Regions from separate parts of the Homo sapiens genome. Here region 2 is linked to region 1. The links are contacts of gene promoters, found by promoter capture Hi-C in blood cells and fetal thymus (Javierre and others, 2016). All regions are on one chromosome and are shown on one strand. Each heading gives the region's core, a stretch centred on a gene start or on the middle of the fragment in contact. The rest is flanking DNA. Distances are from core to core; before and after follow the strand shown. Region 1 holds the start of MAK16 (MAK16 homolog). Region 2 holds the start of PCMTD1 (protein-L-isoaspartate (D-aspartate) O-methyltransferase domain containing 1).

Evidence for each region. Contacts are between HindIII fragments. The CHiCAGO score rates a contact against its expected background, and 5 or more counts as called.
Region 2: the fragment with the promoter of PCMTD1 here is called in contact with the fragment with the promoter of MAK16 in region 1 in 1 of 17 cell types (non-activated CD4 T cells); the score reaches 6.0 in non-activated CD4 T cells.

The regions. Positions count from the first base shown.
Region 1 is chr8:33,482,379-33,489,580 of GRCh38, reverse strand. It overlaps MAK16 (MAK16 homolog), which reads right to left and starts at 4,399. Exons shown (of 10, transcript NM_032509.4): 1 at 4,360-4,399; 2 at 1,154-1,203; 3 at 952-1,061; 4 at 783-847; 5 at 442-593. The coding sequence starts at 4,374. RefSeq lists silencers at 4,392-4,579, 4,790-4,979 and enhancers at 4,470-4,619, 4,607-5,243. The HindIII fragment of the contact is 3,746 bases long and covers 2,504-6,249 here.
Region 2 is chr8:51,895,726-51,902,927 of GRCh38, reverse strand. It overlaps PCMTD1 (protein-L-isoaspartate (D-aspartate) O-methyltransferase domain containing 1), which reads left to right and starts at 3,892. Exons shown (of 6, transcript NM_052937.4): 1 at 3,892-3,998. PCMTD1-DT (PCMTD1 divergent transcript) reads right to left here and starts at 3,613. Exons shown (of 4, transcript NR_189279.1): 1 at 3,082-3,613. RefSeq lists enhancers at 2,776-2,835, 3,136-3,195, 3,366-3,655 and a silencer at 3,696-4,385. The HindIII fragment of the contact is 4,691 bases long and covers 2,382-7,072 here.

The DNA of each region.
Region 1 (7,202 bases), core at 3,150-5,649:
TGGTGAAACCCCATCTCTACTAAAAATACAAAAAAAATTAACCAGGCATGGTGGTCCATGCCTGTAATCCTAGCTGCTCAGGAGGCTGAGGTGGGAGGATTGCTTCAACCGGGGAGATGGAGGTTGCAGTGAGCTGAGGTCGCGCCACTGCAAATTCCAGCCTGGGCGACAGAGTGAGACTCCGTCTTAACAAAAAAGAAAATAAAATTTTCTGAAAGATTTTCAGACAAGGAGGGTGATAATCAAGTTGTATTCTACTGTTTTAAAAGTCCTGCCATATCAAAGGGCACACCTTTAGTCAAAGCTAAAGTTTCTCTTTAGTACATCATAACAGACTCCACAAAGTTGAATAGAAAGCCCCGAAGTTTCACAATTTCTCAACTTCAAAACAAGCTCCATAAAAAGAGAGATTTAAAAATAATGAATGATCCAAATACTTACTGTCGCTTTAGTGTAAGTTTTCTAATTCGAATTAGGTATTGGGTGATCTTGGTGAATCTCTGCTTACATTTGTGTCGAATGAAACGGGGCCAGTAAATCAGATTTTCATCTATTTGCTCCAGTGCTTTCTCATAGTTTTTACTAAGCCGGACCTACCAAACAGAAACAGGAAGTTTGAAGGGCAAGTGTAAATGATTCATTAGGTTTTCACTGTCAGTGACACCCATGGCCTAATGAGGATGGCCTCAAAAGTTAATGGTCATGGAATTGGGCATCATGGTCAAGCATGTGGCTTTGATGCTCTTGATCAGCGGTCACTGTAGTTTTGTTGTAAGGCTTACCCGTTCCCAGAGACGCCGAGGAAAAGCCGCTCGTTCTATAACCTTCATATACAAGTAGCACTGTCCTGAAGATAAAGTAAAATAGCTTTAGTGTTATTTACAGAAACTAAAGAACATCCCTGTAAAAGCTGTGGAGCAGTTCTTCTAGAAGTTAAAACTGGGGAGTTACCTTTCTCTTCTTTAATAGTGGCATACTGACTATTTGCCAGGGGACAGGATGACCGATTACACAGTCCAGTCAGGCTATATTCATTTCGGCAGAAGCTCTGAGTCTTGGTTCTAGAATGGGAGAAAAGAAACAAAGATTATAAAATGGGTTGCCAAAGAGGCAACTGAAGGAATCTTTGACCAAGTTGTAAATTGAGACTCACCTTATTTTGAAGGAACAAAATTGCTTGTTTCCTAGTGTATCCCAGATAACCTGCAAGACAAAGTAAAAGCCCATTTCAAATCCTCTGCCCCAAGAGATACTATATTAATTCAAGAAGGCAATGCCCAAGGACAGGAATGAGAGGAAGAAATGTTTTGTAAAATAGCCTGACTTGTTTACTTTTTAAAATACAAACAGCAAGGCCGGGCACGGTGGCTCACGCCTGTAATCCCAGCACTTTGGGAGGCTGAGTTGGGCGGATCACCTGAGGTGAGGAGTTTGAGACCAGCCTGATTAACATGGAGAAACCCTGTTTATATTAAAAATACAAAATTAGCTGGGCATGGTGGCGCATGCCTGTAATCCTAGCTACTCGGGAGGCTGGGGCAGGAGAATCGCTTGAACCCAGGAGAGGGAGGTTGCGGTGAGCCGAGATTGTGCCATTGCGCTCCAGCCTGGACAACAAGAGTGAAACTCCGTCTCAAAACAAAACAAAACAAAACAAAAAAGCCCAGCAGATTCTTATAGAAAAGCTAAATACAGATGAGCAATAATCATAACTCCATTACCCAGAGATAAAATTTCATTACTATTCTGTAAATATTTTTCCAGACTTTTTTTGACATACTCTGTGAAATCACATTTTATATACTTCGTAACTTTCCCTTTTTACTTATGTTCATTATCCATTATTAAAGGCTCTCATGGGCCGGGTGTAGTGGCTCACACCTGTAATCCCAGCACTTTGAGTGCCAAGGCAGGCGGATCACTTGAGGTTGGGAGTTTGAGGCCAGCCTGGCCAACATGGTGAAACCCCATCTCTACTAATAGAAAAATTAGCCAGGTGTGGTGGCAGGTGCCTGTAATCCCAGCTACTTGAGAGGCTGAGGCAGGAGAATCGCTTGAACCCAGGAGGCAGAAGTTGCGGTAAGCCGAGATCACGCCACTGCACTCCAGCCTGGGCGACAGAGTGAGAATCCATCTCCAAAAAAAAAAAAAAGGCTTCATGGTATTAGATTTTTAGATATACATACCATAATTTTATCTCATTGAGGGCAAAGAAAACTATCTACTGCTATCCTCCTGTACTTAATGTGCTCTTTATTCATTCAGCATTATATACTTAATTTATGTAAGGCACTGACATCTCCAAGTCCTGACACACAGTAGCCACTTAAGTATTTGCTGAATGAAAGAAAGTATACTCTTTAAAGAGTTTCGTCTATCTAGTTAGGGGAAAGATATGTAAACAAAGTATCACAAAATAGCAGGTCTAAAGGCCACATAGCATGCGTAAGAGTATGACAGCCTTTGAGTGCGCTGCCTTGAGGAACTGGGGTAAAAAAAAGCTTTACCACTGTTAAAGGAAAAATATGAAGAGGGCAAAAGAATAAAACACACTTTAAGAATTTTATAGGTGTGTCTGGTGGGGGATGGTAGGAAACAGGTAAGAAGAATAAGGGAGCTCTTTTAGGCTTGTGGCTTTAAGTATCATCTCTAAATGGATGACTCCTAAATTGTTATTTTCTGGTCAGACTTCTTTCCTGAGCACCAGATTTTTATATGACATCTCTTCAATATCTAAAAGGCAACATAAATATTAACATATCCACAAGGAGTTCTCAATTCCACATCCCTCGTAAGAACAGTCTTCCCTAGAGTTCCCCCACTTCAATAAATAAAATCACCATTTAACTATGTATTTATATCCCAAATCCTTTGATTTCTTCCTTTTCTTCTTCACTTAATCCATCACCAAAGTCTTGTCAATTATACTGACGTAAAAGGTCTCAAATTCATCAATTTCTTTTCATCTCCACCATTAAATTACTACCTTAGGCGAAGCCACTTTCGTTTTTAAAAAAATTTATTTACTTTAGAGATAGGGTCTCTCTGTCACCCAGGCTGGAGTGCAGTGGTGCCATCATAGCTCACTGCAGCCTCGGACTTTTCGGCTCAAGTAGTCCTTCTGCCTCAGCCTTCGAAGTAACTGGGACCTCAGGCGAACACCACCGCGCCCAGCTAATTTTTTATTTTTTGTAGAGATGGAGTCTCACTTTATTGCCTAGGCTGGAATCGAACTCCTGGCCTCAAGCGATCCTCCAGCCCCAGCCTCCCAAAGCGTTGGGATTACAGGCATGAGCCACTGTGTCTGGCTTGAAGCAACCTTTGTCATACCCTAGTCTCCTTGCTTTCATTTTTTCCCTCCAAAAGTCCTTCACACAGCAACTAGACAACTTTTCACAAACATAGATCATTAAAAGGCCTAAAAAACACTTCCTACAAGATTCTGCATGACCTCGCCCTGGCAAGCATATCTAATTTCATTACCTGTCTTACATTGTCACTTTGATGACCCTTATATTCATTCTCTCATATCTTCAACTCTTTGTACTTTACTGTTCCTACTGCCTGGATTGCTTTTTCCTCAGCTCCTCAGTGACTGGCTTATTCTTATCTTTTAGATCTCAACTCAAACATCTTCTGTTCAGAGAAACCTTCCCTGAGTAACCCTATCTGAAGTGTCCTTCATCATCTCTGGTCTTTCTTTCATAGTATGATTATATAGTGTAATTGTTAACTTATTTGTTCACTTGTTTACTGTGTCTCCCCCATCAGTGTTCCAGGAGAGGTGGGACATTTTTTCTGGTTAACCAAATCCTCAATAATTACCACAATGCCTGGCACACTGTAAGCACACTGTTATTTCTCCAACAAAAAACTCAATGAATGAATCTAGGATACTTCCGAAATTATGACTTAGGCAGAAGTAGAGCAAATGTAAAGAAAAGCCTACACAGGAAACGCAGATGGAAGAGTAACGCGCACATGGATGAGAAGGACGCTTAAACTTGGAGTCAGCTTCGCCAAATCCCGGGCCGCCCCCCACCCCAAGTCCGGAGCTGACAGCTGACAGCTGACAGCATGACGCGACGTCCTGCATTGGTAGGCACGAAGGACGGGACACATCGACCCCATGGGCTGAGGTGACGGAGTCCTGTGCTCACAACCCGGCCGGGGCAGCGGGCAGTAAACCCCTGCTAGACACGCGTGAGAACCTATGTTGGAAAATCGGGGTTCCGGAAGCCTCACATCCAGAGCGGCACGAGGCAACAGACCCGCTGCGTACGCGTTTTCTAAGTGTCCGAAAATGGGCAAAATTCCCTGCGCAAACCCCGGGTGTAAGAACAACCGGAGGAGACTCACATCATCCGACTGCATGGTGTCCGCGGCTCAGCGTGCAACTTCCGGTCGGATCGCGGGCGCAGACATGCTCCTTCCGGGAAACCAGTTCCGGAACGCGCAGCCTCACCTATCTCGAGAAACGCTGAGACTCTCGGTGTTGCGAAGCGTCCCCTGGCAGTCTCGTCGCCGCGCGCGCGCCCCCGCGTCTTCACCACGCTGGCGTCTGCGCGCGCCCGTCCGCAATGCTGGGCTTGTTCATGGGCGCAGCCTGGAGCTGGGAACCCTGTTGGGACCCAGTGCGATCCGCGGGAGGCAGGACGCGCGCAGTCTGCCGAATCCTGGAGCGCGGGGACCGCGGGGGTCGGGCGTGCTTCCCTAGCGCCCTGTTTGTGACCGTTCATGAGGATGGGACCCCTCCCTGTCGGGCCTCCCCTCTGCTGGGAGGAGGCTGGGGAAAGCTGCAGGCGGCGCGGCGGGGCTGGGTCCCCGCTCCTCCGAGTCCCCCGGCCCCAGCTCGCAGCCAGGCCCCGGCCCTGCCCCTCAGACCCTGACTTAGCCACTCCCCACGCCCACGTTGGGTGCGGCACCGGGTCCTGACTTTAGAAACTCAGAACTTGAATTCCTCCTGCTTTGAGAAACCACTGACCAAATGGAAAGAGCATTCCAATAATAATAAACACCTGTGTCTTCCTCATTGCCTATTTGAGACAACAAACAAAGTTGATAAGGGAGGGAAAATACCAAGAAGAAAAGTAGAGGTCTAATAACCCACAAAAACAAATCTGGAAGCCTAACAGCTCTTTTCCGCCAGGGGAAAAAGAAAATCTTTACTAGTTTGTATCGTATTATAGAAGAAAGACTGTCGGCCGGGCCGGGCGCGGTGGCTCTCGCCTGTACCTCAGCACTTTGGGCGGCCTAGGCGGGCGAGTTCCAGACCAGCCTGGCCAACATAGTGAAATCCCGTCTCTACTAAAAATACAAAAATTAGTCGGGCGTGGTAGCAGGTGCCTGTAATCCCAGCTACTTGGGAGGCTGAGGCAGGAGAATCGCTTGAACCCGGGAGGCGGAGGTTGCAGTGAGCCGAGATCATGCTGTGGCCCTCCAGCCTGGGTGACAACCAAAACTACCTCTCAAAAAAAAAAAAAGAAAAAGAAAAAAGAAAAGGAAAGAAAGACTGTCAAGAGGCATTTGAACCAGAGCAACCCCATCTTGAATAGTGGCTGGGTAAAATAAGGCTGAGATCTGCTAGGCTGCATTCCCGAGGGTCAGGCCATCTAAATCACAGGATGAGGTCAGCACAAAATACAGGTCATAAGGATGTTGCTGATAAAACAGATTGCAGTAAAGAAGCCAGTCAAGACCCACAAAACCAAGATGGCAATGAGTTTGACCTCTGGTCGTCCTCACTGCTACACTCCCACTGGCGCCACAAATGCCATGGCAACATCAGGAAATTACTCTATATGGTCTAAAAAGGAGAGGCGTAAGTAATCCGCTCCGTGTTTAGCATATAATCAATAAATAGGCTGGGCTTGGTGGCTCACGCCTGTAATCAGCATTTTGGGAGGCCGAGGCAGGTGGATCACCCGAGGTCAGAAGTTCAAGACCAGACGGGCCAACGTGGTGAAACCCCATCTCTACTAAAAATACAAAACTTAACCAGGCGTGGTGGTGGGCACCTGTAGTCCCCGCTACTTGGGAGGCTGAGGCAGGAGAATCACTTGAATCTGGGAGGCAGAGATTACAGTGAGCTGAGATCAAGCCGCTGCACTTCAGCCTGGGCAACAGAGCAAGAATCAGTCTCAAAAAATACATGAACAAATAGCGATAAAAATGGGCAACCAGCAGCCCTCGGTGCCGCTCTGCCTATGCAGTAGCCATTCTTTCATTCCTTTACTTTCTTAATAAGCTTGCTTTCACTTTACGAAACTTATGGACTCACCTCAAATTCTTTCTTGCTTAAGATCCAAGAACCCTCTCTTGGGTCTGATTGGGGACCACTTTCCAGTAACAAGACCATTTTAATAACAAAAGTGTAAGAAGGACACAGTCTCAGTAAGGATGGCGTGTGTCCGGGAGGCCACCCACAGGTCCTAGAGGCTGCCTGTGGCTTCTTGCCACATGGGATTTCTCAACATAGCTCCTTACTTCATCAAGCCAGCAACGAGTTAAATTCCAGTCTGCTAAAACAGAATCTTAAATAATGTTAATCTTAAATAATCTTAAATAATCTTAAAAAATTATGGCAGTGACTTTCCATAGACTTTGCCTTATGCCATTGGTTAGATCAAGTCACAGGTGCCACCCTCACTGGAGGGGAGGAGAAGATACAAGACATGAACACCAGGGAGTGGGACTCACTGGGGTCACCCTAGGGATACCCTGGATTTGACTGCAACTGAAACACATGAGAAATTTGATATAAAGTTTAAAAGCATTTATCATGATATTATGTAGTATTTAGTGAGGCAGAGCTTGCGGTGAGCCGAGATCCCGCCACTGCACTCCAGCGTGGGTGACAGAGCGAGACTCTGTCTCATTAAAAAAACAAACAAACAAAAAGTAATCTCCAGTTCAAAAGAAGAATGAAAGAAAATTTAGCCGTGTGCGGTGGCTCACACCTGTAATCCCAGCACTTTGGGAGGCCAAGACAGATGGATCAGCAGGTCAGGAGATCGAAACCACCCTGGCCAAGATGGTGAAACCCTGTCTCTACTAAAAATACAAAAATTAGCCGGGCGTGGTGGTGGGTGCCTGTTATCCCAACTCTTCGAGAGGCTGAGGCAGAGAATTGCCTGAACCCACAAGGCAGAGGTTGCAGTGAGCTGAGATCGCACCACTGCACTCCAGCCTGGGTGACAGAG
Region 2 (7,202 bases), core at 2,643-5,142, about 18 Mb before region 1:
CAATAAATTATAAATGCTTATTTTTCTAAAAGAAATTCATTTTTTGATAACTTATATTTCCTTTTATTGGAAGATTATCCTAGCATTAAAATCTATGTAATTGAGGGATTATATGTGCAATTTAAAATAAAATTATGCTTTCCCAAAGTCATTTAATCCTATTAATTGTCAAGTGAATATTTCAGAAATTACTGACCTTTTTAATACTGAAAATGAAATCTGCCTGTGCAGACTACATCCAATTAGAAACTAACTCCTGGGCTCAAGTAATCCTCCCATCTCAGCTTCTGGAATAGCTGGGACTACAGGCATGCATCACCACACTCAGGTAATTTTTAAATTTTTTGCAGAGATGAGGTCTCACTATGTTGCTCAGGCTGATCTTGAAATCTTGCAACTTCTGAGCTCAAATGATTCTCCCACCTCTGCTTCCTATAGGGCTGGGACTATAGTCGTGAGCCACTGTGCCTGGCCAATGACAATTCTCTTTAAGAGAGAAAATACTTCTGTTTTTGCTTTTTTTTTTTTTGCAGGGGGAGGGGGATGGTGAGGTAGGGGAGGTGATGAATTTAACTGTACTGAAAATGGTACAAGGAAATCAAACTGCAGAAAAAAACAGTTCCACATTTAGTTACATTTTAGTTTTGGGTTTTCCCCAGACATTGCAGGCCAAATTAGAGTTAAGATGAGGAAATCCTTTCAGTCCTCACAGACCAGACTTGGCTTTATAAAACATAATCAAGTCCCACTATACAACCTAGGTGTTAGGAAGCAACTAGAGTTTTCAAGGTAGATCTGGGCAACACGCAGACACCTCCATTTCTGAGGCTGAAGGAAACATGCACCAGTGCTAACTGCCACGCATATGAAAAATGTGAACTCCTAGCACGGTGACAGTAGCTGTATGCTGAATACCATTTAATTTAATAAGCATTTGTTTGTTGAATACCTTATGCATTCAAATAACAGAGCACTTCTGATACAACAATGCTTCAGCCTACACAGTATTCTGAAAGGAGTCCCAAATAGCTCAATTTTACTTTGGGTATTTTCTGCTTAATAATAAAAGTGAAGCAACCTCGTATGAAGAATTAAGTTATTACAGTAAGTGTTATTGCTGTTGCCAGGACCAAACTTACTGTAACAATGTATCAAGAACTCTAGGAATAAACTGTGTGTGGGTTATCTAAATTTATCAAAGTCTAAATAAATCTCTAAATGATTCTAGATGATAATTTAAAATTTAAATTACTCATTCAACAAATGCAGAGTATCAGTGTTGTAGCAGCCACTGTATCAGGCCCTGCAGAGAAATAGTGAGCATACTGGGTATGTGCCCAACTTTCATGATTACAAATTAGTAGGAAGTCACACACAAGAAGTGAATTATAGCCAGACGTGGTGGCTCATGCCTGTAATCCCAACACTTTGGGAGGCCGAGGCGGGTGGATCACTTGAGATCGGAGTTTGAGGCCAGCCTAGCCAACAGGGGAAACCCCATCTCTACTAAAAATACAAAAATTAGCAGGGGGTGGTGGTGCGCTCCTGTGATCCTAGCTACTTGGGAGGCTGAGGCAGAACTGCTTGAAGCCGGGAGGTGGAGGTTGCAGTGAGCAGAGGTTGCCACTGCACTCCAGCCTGGGCAAAAGAGCAAAAGACTCTGTCGCCCCCACCCACAAATGAATTATATGTGTAAGGTATGGAGGCATAATCAGAAATTACGTGAAGGTAGAGATGGGGTGTGCCTACCACAGGAAAATTACAGGTGATAGAGTGCTTTACTTGCTGTTCAACTACTCACCCACAAGACTAGCATTTGGTGTTGTTTATTAAGAAGGTATTTACTAGCAGTCTTATTTAAAAAATGACCTGTGTTTAACTTTCCAGCCGCAGAAGAGAAAAAAGGTCTAGAACCCTGAAAAATTCCCATAGCAGAAGGAAGAAAGTAAAGGAAAATATGCTTTTAAAAAATGGAGAGAAAACAGGGGAAACGGCTGTAAGAGTTGTTTAATGATTTTAGCTATTTTCCTTAGATTACCATTTGTACTTTTTTTGTTTGTTTATGGTAAGATAGTTTTCATGTGCCAAAATTTCTGCTTGGACTAACAGAAAATTCATCCTGTAAGATTGTTATATGATCCCACAACGGTTAGGAGTGCCCTGGGTCCAGGCAGAAATCCAAAGATGGAGCTAATAATGTGACCCGCAGCTCTACTCCAGAATGCAGATGAATAGAGATTTTGAACAGTTCGGAGCTCAATGTCCACTGAATATGCACTCATACTTTAAACCTAAATAAAGTGAAGCCTTTGAGTTAAATGGCAGAGCGCCTCAGCAGCAATTTTGCTCGTTTTCAAGTTCTTATTTCGTGATTTGAAGCTTTTGACCTTGCTAGCATGTTCTTTCTGAACGCTTTTGCAGATGGTTGGTTATGGTGGGGAGTAGTAACCCTAGCATAAAGACGTTCTAATTCTAACTTACCTTAGGTAACCTATAAGGGTAGCTTACGCTCACTCTCATACTTGAAAATCAAAACCGAACAGAATTCACACGATGGAAGCAAATCATGCTACAACCTACTATTAGAGACTGAAGGGAAACGCACAAAGATTAATGAACAACAAAGAACACTTCAAAAAGTACAGTATTTGGAAAAGACATGCCTTTATGTACACTAAAACTAATTTAAAAAATTAAATGCAGTTTGCTAGGAGTCTTACAAGTATTAACAGCATGTTCACTGCTTAGGATCCTTAGTAGCAATATTTTCCCGGCTCGCCTGCCCCTATGCCTCATTTCCTCTTCTTTTTTTTTTTGAGATGGAGTTTCGCTCTTGCCGCCCAGGCCAGGTGCCATCTCAGCACTGCAACCTCCGACTCCCGGGTTCAAGCGATTCTCCTACCTCAGCCTCCCGAGTTGCTGGGACTACAGGCGCACGGCACCACACCCGGCTAATTTTTGTATTTTTAGTAGAGACGGGGTTTCACCATGTAGGCCAGGCTGGTCTCTAAGTCCTGACCTCAGGTGATCCGCCTGTCTCGGCCTCCCAAAGTGCTGGGATGACAGGCGTGAGCCACTCACCCGGCCCTCTTCTCGACTTTCTATCCCTCCTCCTCAACACCCTTTCCTTCTGGAAATGGGCTTTGGGGTGGTTAACCAAGCCCAGGGAAACTTGCGTGGCCCAGCATCTTCCGTCCGCTGCAGGAGGAGCACACGCCCCCGGCCCGGGTCAGCAAGACGCGAGAAAGCGGCCACGCCGGGCGTCCGGGAGCTGAGGCTGGAGGGCGCCTGGCAGGCAGGGCGGGGCCCAGGCGGCGGGAGTGCTTATGACCGGCGCTGGGGGGAACTTCTGGACGTCAAGGGGCCACTATAAAGCGGCACAGTCTTGAGCCTTCGCTCTTCACCTAAGTCAGTGAGCGCCCTTCGCAAAGCCTCTGTGGAGGTAACCATTGGGGGTTCGCCTCCAAATCCAGGAATGCACCTCAAAAATGCTCCTACACCGTAAGACCGTGTCCTTCAATGCAAAGGGGACTGTGCGGCGAGGCACCGACAAGCCGTAGCCCTGAGACCACTGAAAGCCTGCACCCCAGCGCCGGTGCGAGAACGTGGAGATGGCGGTGGGGAGGAGAGGTGGAGGCCATGCTCTCGCGTGATCTCCCCTACCGCCATCGTCTTCTGGCCTGTCAAGGCCTCGCGTTGTTTGGGCTTGGGGGCGGAGCGAGCCCTGAGGGGGGCGGGGCCAGATGGGGGCGTCTCCCGGCCTTGTTGACTTTGGCGTCCGCGGGGAGCTGCCCCTGTGCCCGTGGTTCTCTGCGCATGCCCGGACCCCGGCGGCTCCGGAGTCCGGGAGGCTCTGGCTGCTCCAGTCGCGGGTCCGGGCCCCGCCTCTCCACTCGGCGGTGGCGTCCGTGTTGTTATTGTGGTGGTAGCGGCGTCTGGCTGCTGCGGACCCCGCCGAGTCCTAGCGCCTGGCCTGCGCGCCGCTGCCCGCGCCACAGGTAACGCCGCCGCCAGTGGGGGCTCGGGGTCGTGGGGTGTGCGAGTCCCGCGTGCTAGGGCCGGGCGGGCGACTGGGATGCGCTTGGAGGCCAGAGGGCCAGGGGGACGGCAGCCGAAGAGTCGGGGGCAGGGGGACTTAAGGGCGGGCAGGTCGGGGGCCAGGAAACTGAGGCGCTGCGGGGCAGGTTGGGGGAAGGACGGGCCGGGGGCGGAGGACTTGGGAGGTCGGGGAGTCGAAAGGGGCCCAGCGAAGCCTGGAGGTCGGGAGCCGGGGTCCCTGGGGCCGGGGAGGTCGGGGGCCCGAGGGAGGCCGGGGCGCCGCGTCCTCGGCCCGTCCTCGGCTCGTCCTCGGCTCTGACCTGGGCTTGGGGACCAGAGTCCCGAGGCTGGCGTCTTGAGATGCCCGCGGGCCCCTTAGGGCCGTTTTGGATCCGCCCAGTGACTTCTGTTTTGGTTTTGGAGGCAGAGAATCCAGTCTACGTAGACTCGGGGAAGTCTCGGGGGCTGGGAGGGGACTGAGAGGTTATAGCAGGCGCCAAGGCCTCTTTTTGTGTTTTTGAGCGTCTACTACCGTTCCGGGGAAGTGCAGTGCCCGCGTTTTGCTTGGGGAATTTCAGACACCGGCATGGGGAGGACCCACGGGCAGAACCCGAGGGAGTAATTTTGCAAATCCAAGATTTTTTGGAACTTCTATAATTTTGTTTTCGTGTGTCCTCTTTTTAGAATCGAGAAACCAGAGATATATTTTTAACATTACAAATCAGAAGAATTTGCTACGGAGGAAAAAAGTATGCTTTTAGCAGTGTTTTTCCCCTATTTATTTTTTTAATTACAAAAGTACTGCTTGCTCCTTGAGAAAAACATGAAGCAGCCAAACAATGAGGAAACCTGCCCTCTCTCGCGCCCTTCCCCCCATATTTCTCCTTCTTACTACCCAGGGTAGCCAGTCTCCAAGTGTGGTGGGTAGTTATTCAGGATTTTTTTTTTCTGTGCATTTAATGAGTGTGCTTTAGAAACAAGATTGGGATCATATATAGTACAGTATATCGTTTTATTAGCCAACAATGCATCATGGATATTCCTCCATTTTATTACACACCTCATTATTTTAAAAAACATTATTACTATGTATTAGAGAATCCAATCTACGTAGGCTTGGGGAAGCCTTTTCTTCATTGTTAAACATGGTCGCCAAGTTTTCAATAATCAGTAGCTTTGAAAAGGGCTACAAGCCAATATTTTGAAACAATGTGGCAAAACTTTCAGAATGTCTGCGGCCAGACGACATTACTTTCGTATTAAGCAGATTAATATGTTTACGTATTGCTTAATGGTAGTTTACATGAGGCTAGATGACTCCATAAAACATAAAGTTGCTGAATTAGTTTACTTTTTGGTTTTTTTTATTTCATTTTTTTCTAAGTAAATTTTAATTCCATATGGTCAGTTGAACACTTGTAATTTCTTTAACATGAAGTAGCTAATATGTGAAGGAAAGGTAAGGTAGGAAAGATAGAAAGCTAGTGGCCCTAGCCTGAGACAAGAAAAAAAAAGCAACAGGGATTAAATATTTTGGTAAGTAAGCTATAGGGAGTAAACTGGAAGTGGAGGGGTGATACTACACTGCCTACTATTAAGTAAGACAGAAAGCTAGGAAATTCCCATTGCATACTGTATTTCTGTGTGCAGAAGAGCTGGAGGCTTTGTTGATTTAATCACTAGCTTGTATTTATTAAAAATGTACTGTGTTCATCTTGGTGCTAGCTTCCAGGGAAAGAACAACTGAGGAAGATAATCACGAACAACGTCTGGTTCTAAACATGCATAGCCTGAAATTTTAAGCCAAATTGTGTAGTATTTTATGATTTGGAAACTGTGCTCGAAAGGAATAAAAAAATCCATGACATTTTAGTTATTTTTGGTAATAATATGCTCATATATTTCTCATAACAACATAAATGACATTCTTCTCATTCTATAGAGTAATAAATAGAGGCTTTGAGTAAAAGAACTGCTCAAGATCCCATTGCTTTTTTTTTTTTTTTGTAATAGTGCGTGTTTATATTCAGGAGTGCTTAATCCAAGAACCTGTGTTTTCTGCTCTTGTTTTACCTCCTATGAACGAAAAATTGTTGCCCTTACGGTTTTTTCTGCTTTCTTTGAAATGTTCCTTACAGAATAACTACATGAATGTAATCACATGCATTTAAAATAGTCTAGAGAATATAGTGTGAAACTATAATGGTATTTTTTTAGATGAGGTTTCTGGTGGCATATTACTAAAATTTTAAACTCCTTGATCTTATGCTGTTAACCAAGAAGATGGGGATTTGTGTTACTTTAGACACTGCTGGGTGCCATGGTAAATTGGGATGTTATTGTAAATTGTAGCTCTCACAGCTGCGTATTGCTTACAAACTCGGAAGGATAGTCTCATATCAGTAAACATTTTTATGAACGTAGTTGAACTTTTTTGTAAATTAGTGTGCTGGAAAGAATACCAAGAGGGCCCTAAAAAAGTCTAAAAGGATTAAAATTTACTTATGTAATTATTGGTATTTTAAAATATTTGGTAGTCACTTAAAATGCATAATGACAGACAATAGGGTGTCATAATATGGTTTATTAATCTTTTTTCATTTTCCACTAGATGTGGCAACTACATAGTTGGAAGAAATGTGGCGGCCGGGGGCAGTGGCTCACGCCTGTAATCCTAGCACTTTGGGAGGCTGAGGCAGGTGGATCGCCTGAGGTCAGGAGTTCGAGTCCAGCCTGGCCAACATGGCAAAACCCCGTCTCTACTAAAAATACAAAAATTAGCCGAGCTTGGTGGTGGGCATCTGTAATCCCAGCTACTCGGGAGGCTGAGGCAGGAGAGTCGCTTGAACCTGCGAGTCAGAGGTTGCAGTGAGCCAAGATCGCTCCACTTCACTCCAGCCTGGTCAAAAGAGTGAGACTCTGTCTCAAAAAAAAAAAAAAAAAAAAAAAAAGAAATGGGACAAATACTAACATTAATAAAGTATGGTCAGTTGTAATCTGTATTTGAGAAGAAACCAAAAATACAGGAAAAGCTTTGACATTTTACTGGCAATTGTTAAGGATGATAATTGGATTCATACCTAAATGGCGTATCTGCCATTGATTATCTCTCGGTCAACGTAACATTGGATGTTGGATGTGAGTGGGTTTTATAATTAGGTGAC